Regions from separate parts of the Homo sapiens genome. Here region 2 is linked to region 1. Evidence: promoter capture Hi-C in human tissues and cell types (Jung and others, 2019). All regions are on one chromosome and are shown on one strand. Each heading gives the region's core, a stretch centred on a gene start or on the middle of the fragment in contact. The rest is flanking DNA. Distances are from core to core; before and after follow the strand shown. Region 1 holds the start of TES (testin LIM domain protein). Region 2 overlaps ST7 (suppression of tumorigenicity 7).

What was found. Contacts are between HindIII fragments. The study calls those that stand out against the background at their distance.
Region 2: a contact is called between a fragment that was not itself captured here and the fragment with the promoter of TES in region 1, in 1 of the 25 tissues and cell types used here (dorsolateral prefrontal cortex).

The regions. Positions count from the first base shown.
Region 1 is chr7:116,209,204-116,211,903 of GRCh38, forward strand. TES (testin LIM domain protein) reads left to right here and starts at 1,336. Exons shown (of 7, transcript NM_015641.4): 1 at 1,336-1,531. The coding sequence starts at 1,505. RefSeq lists silencers at 1,055-1,184, 1,218-1,480, 1,235-1,434, 1,575-1,664 and an enhancer at 2,025-2,264. The HindIII fragment of the contact is 11,100 bases long and covers 1-2,700 here.
Region 2 is chr7:117,107,115-117,109,814 of GRCh38, forward strand. All of the region lies in intron 2 of ST7 (suppression of tumorigenicity 7), which reads left to right. It also overlaps a transcript of ST7-AS2 not described here. Among named protein-coding and RNA genes, the nearest start is that of ST7-AS2, 37 kb to the right of the region's middle. The HindIII fragment of the contact is 5,678 bases long and covers 1-2,700 here.

The sequences.
Region 1 (2,700 bases), core at 86-2,585:
CATCAGCTGAAAAGAAAAATGCATAACTCATTTTGGTAATTTCAGTTTTAATTCTTAATAGGATAAAGGAAACATGCACATTATAAATCAATGCTCTGTGTTAACAAATAATCAAGTAAGCAGAGTTGCAAGTATTGGCTAAAATGAATTTTGGATATTTTTAGCTACCAAATTTCTCGAGGCAAGGCAGACATACATCTGGACCTGAATATCTGCATTATTAGGGAATTTTTGTTTGTTTGTTTTATATTGTTTTGTTATTTTTAAAAGTAGGTGCCAAATTAGGTCACCTGCTGTCTGGGCAATGTTATTTTTTGCCATAACCACAAATTGAAGAAAATTGACTGCTCTTTTTCCTTAGTCAACATGCTGTGCTTCCAGCCCCAAACATCTTTGAGAAGTTGTTTAGATTCATGAGCAATGCCTCTGTCCCCAACAGGCTAAGACATTAGGCAGGTCCCTGCACCTCTGGAGTCCTCAGTTCCCTGCAAAGTGAGGAAGCTAGACTAAGTAATCGTTAGGCTCCCTTCCAGACCGACCAATCTGATGGTATTAGATGCAATTGCTCCTGAATTAGGGCATGAAATGAATTCAGCTTTGGTGCACCAATGTGATGACTCTGCTTCATCAAAGCCTGAGCACGCGATAGGCCTAGCACCATCTCACACAGAGACAAAGGGCAACCCTCTGCTTCCAAAGGAATGACACAACCTGTTTCTGAAGTGATTCACATCATCTTTACTTTTGAACAACCCAATGCTCAGAAAACAATCTAAGAATCTTCGCTGACTTTAGGGATGTAAGATACGGTTTCTTGACAGTATTTGGGATTGTGGAAAAAAGCAATTGAGGAAAGGGCATCTCCACAACGCAATATTGAATTTAGTGCCCAAGGTCCATCACAGGAATCCCTAACGATCCCTACAATCTCTCTCTCTCTCTTTTTTTTCTCTCTTTACCCTGAAAATAAACTGAGAAGTTAGTATTGGGATAACTATTCCCCTTGACCCAAATAAAAAGTCCTGGGCAAACACAGGTACAAATTGCCAAATGGAAAAAGTTCTTCTCCATCTTCAGCTAGAGGGAGGCTGGGGATCCCAGCTCTTTAGAAGCCGGCCCGTGGACGCCCAGAGAATCCCTTCGGAGACCAGGTCAGGGTCACTGAGCTTGCCCAGCAGGGCGCCGCCTCGGACGCCGCCCCGCCTCTCACCTTGCCAGCGCCGCGCTCGGGCCGCGAAGGTGCGTGCGGCGCTCGGTGATTGGCGGCGGCCCGGAGCTGCCCGGCTGCCATTGGCTGCCCGGCCCCCTTTGTTCCCGGGTCCGGGCCGCAGGCCCGCTGCGGCGGACTGGGCGGCGGAAGTTCGACGGCGCCGGGCGAGTGGCTGTTGAGCGGCGCCGCGGGAGTTCCGCAGGTTTCCCGTGTTCGCAGCGGAGCCGGAGGCCAGCTGAACCCGGCCGTGGGATCCCGGATAGGAGGAGGAGGGGACCCATAGGACGCGTTAACATGGACCTGGAAAACAAAGTGAAGAAGGTAGGGGGGCGCTCGTGGCGGGCGGCGGCTGCTTCACCTGCGCGGGTCGCGCGGCGCGCGGCGGCCGGAGGTGCCGAGGTGGGTGGGGCTCGCGGGCCCCCCGGTGTGAGCCCGGCTCTGGGTCTGCGGTGCCCCGGGCCCAGGGACCTGGCCCCCTGGGTAGAGGAGGTGCTCGGCGGCCCCGCCAGCTCCCCACACTCGGGAGCGACAGAATTGGAAGCGCGAGCGAGGGCGGGCGCGGGACTCTTCTCTCCAGTCTCACGGAATCCCAGTGGTTGTAGGTGTTGGAAACTTTACTTAAGATGTTTCAGCTCTGCCTGTGCCTCCTCAAAAGGAAAGGACGAGCTTAGGGCGAGTGCGGGCGAGACCGTGACACTTCCTGGCTCAGGAAGTTGAATTTCATTAAGCCTTTGTGGTTTGGGGCTCTGCTGTGCTTTGACAGCTCTGATCTCCTCCCTTCCGGCTGGGCTGTCTGGGGCGCTCTAAAATGAGTGTTGATTTAATGCACTGCCTTCGCACCCGTGCTGGTGATAACTTCTAATGTGATTTTTTTTTCGGTCATTCATTACTTGTCTACCGACCGAGGCAGTGCCTCCCTCTTAGGGAATTATCTGTCAAAGAGCGCATTCTCCTTGTTTGGCAGGTAGTCCCAAAGGGCGGTTGTCACCAGCGTCTCAGCGCAGGGAGACATTTTCAGCTTGGCTGCTGCCTCGCAGGCACTGGAACCGACGGCCCTACCTGAGCCACTCCCGGGTTATGCGGAGCCTGGTGTCGCCTGGGAGAAAAGGGTGGGGACCAGACTATGACTCAGAAGGAATGCTGATGTCACATTCGAGTGAATTGCCCTGTGCGAAAGTTCTCCTCGTTCCAGGGGATTTGCTCATGTTTTACTTTGTGGTAAATTTAAGCTAGCTGTCCCTTATCAAATAGAGAAGTTTTGCAGAGAGAGGAAGGGAAAAATACAGAAAACAGTTTTTGTTTTTCTCATACTCATGGTTCCTAATATTTTATCTTCTAAACACAAAGTTTTTGACTTGAGCATTAATTCTATTTTATGCCCAGAACTGGATTTTTGAAAATGGATACAAAATATTGTGTTAGGACTGCAGAGTTTTCGGTTAGGAAGCTATTGACCAATAAAAACTCGAAATGAGAAAACAGTTTTTTTC
Region 2 (2,700 bases), core at 138-2,637, 900 kb after region 1:
ATATATATATATATGTATACATACACACACACCACATTTTCTTTATCCACTTATTGATGAGCATTTGGACTGGTTCCATATTTTTGCTATTGCAAATTGTGCTGCTATAAACATGCGTGTACAAGTATCTTTTTTGTATAGTGACTTCTTTGCCTCTGGGTAGGTACCTGGTAGTGGGATTGCTGGATCCAATGGTAGATGTACTTTTAGTTCTTTAAGGAATCTCCAGTGTTTTCCATAGTGGTTGTACTAGTTTACATTCCCACCAGCAGTGTAAAAGTATTCCCTTTTCACCACATCCATACCCATATCTATTATTTTTTTACTTTTTATTATGGTCATTCTTGCAGGGGTGAAGTGGTGCTGCATTGTGGTTTTGATTTGCATTTCCCTGATCATTAGTGATGTTGAGCATTTTTTTCATGTTTATTGGCCATTCGTATATCTTCTTTTGAGAATTATCTATTATTCATGTCCTTAGCCCACTTCTTTTTTTTTTTTTTTTTTTTTTTTTTGAGACAGAATTTTCACTCTTGTTGCCCAGGCTGGAGTGCAATGGCACAATCTCGGCTCACTGCAACCTCTGCCTCCTGGGTTCAAGCAATTCTCCTGCCTCTGCCTCCCAAGTAGCTGGGATTACAGGCATGTGCCACCATGCCTGGCTAATTTTTTGTGTTTGTTAGAGACAGGGTTTCACCATGTTGGCCAGGCTGGTCTGGCCAACTTCTGACCTCAGGTGACCCACCTGCCTCGGCCTCCCAAAGTTCTGGGATTGTAGACGTCAGCCACTGCACCCGGCCCTTAGCCCACTTTTTGAAGGGATTTTTTTCTTTCTTGCTGATTTATTTGAAATCCTTGTAGATTCAGGATATTAGTCCTTTGTCAGATGTGTAGATTATGAAGATTTTCTGCCACTCTGTGGGGTGTCTGTTAATTCTGCTGATTATTTCTTTTGCTGTGCAGAAGCTTTTTAGTTTAATTAAGTCCCATCTATTTATCTTTTTTTTTGTTGCACTTGCTTTTGGGTTCTTGTTCATGAAGTCTTTGCCTAAGCCAATGTCTAGAAGGGTTTTTCCAATGTTATCTTCTAGAACTTTTATGGTATCAGGTCTTAGATTTAAGTCTTTGATTCATCTTGAGGTGATTTTTGTATAAGGTGAGCGATGAGGATCTAGTTTCATTCTTACTCATGTGACTTGCCAATTATCCCAGCACCATTTGTTGAATAGGGTGTCTTTTCCACACTTTATATTTTTGCTGTGCTTTGTCCAAGATCAGTCGACTGTAAGTATTTGGCTTTATTTCTGGGTTCTTCATTCTGTTTCATAGGTCTATATGCCTGTTTTTATACTAGTACCAAGCTGTTTTGGTGACTGTGGCCTTATAGTATAGTTTGAAGTCAGGTAATGTGAATCTCCAGATTTGTTCTTTTTGCTTAGTTTTGCTTTGGCTATGCAGGCTCTTTTTAGGTTCCATATGAATTTTTTGGTTGTTTTTTTCTAGTTCTGTGAATAATGATGGTGGTATTTTGATGGGAATTGCATTGAATTTGTAGATTGCTTTCGGCAGTATGGTCATTTTCTCAATGTTGATTCTACCCATCCATGAGCATGGGATGTGTTTCCATTTGTTTGTGTTATCTGTGATTTCTTTCAGCAGTGTTTTGTAGTTTTCCTTGTAGAGGTTTTTCACCTCCTTGGTTAAGTGTATTCCTAAGTATTTTTTTATTTTTTTATTTTTACAGCTACTGTAAAAGTGGTTGAGTTCTTCATTTGCTTCTCAGCTTGGTCGCTGTTGGTGTATAGCAGGGCTACTAATTTGCGTACATTAATTTTGTATCCTAAAACTTTGCTGAATTCATTTACCACTCCTGGGAGCTTTTTGGATGAGTCTTTAGGGTTTTCTAGGTATATGATCATGTCATCAGCAAACACTTGACAGTTTGACTTCCTCTTTACCGATTTGAATGCCCTTTATTTCTTTCTCTTGTCTGATTGCTGTGGCTAGGATTTCCAGTACTATGTTGAATAGAAGTGGTGAAAGTGGGCATCCTTGTCCTGTTCTCAGGGTAAATGCTTTCAACTTTTCCTCGTTCAGTATAATGTTGGCTGGGGGTTTGTCAGAGATGGCTTTTATTACCTTAAGTATGTCCCTTCTATGCCAATTCTTTTGAAGAGATGAATAAAATTGATAGACCATTGGTGAGATTAAGCAAGAGAAGAAGAGAGAAGATCCAAATAAGCTCAATTAGAAACGAAATAGGAGATATTACAACTGATACCACAGAAATACAAAAGATAATTCAAGGCTACTTTGAACCCCTTTACACACATAAACTAGAAAACCTAGAAGAGATGGATGAATTCCTGGAAATATACAACCATCCTAAATTAAACTAGGAAGAAATTGAAAGTCTGAACAGATTGAAATGGTAATTAAAAAGTTACCAACAAAAAAAAGTCCAGGACCAGATAGACTCACAGCTGAATTCTATCAGACATTCAAAGAAGAATTGGTACCAATCCTATTGACCCTATTCCAAAAAATAAAGAAGGAATCCTCCCTAAATTATTCTGTGAAGCCAGTATCACCCTAATGCCCAAACCAGGAAACAATATAACAAAAAAATAAAACTACAGATCAATATCTCTGATGAACGTAGATACAAAAATTCTCAGTAAAATATTAGCTAACTGAATC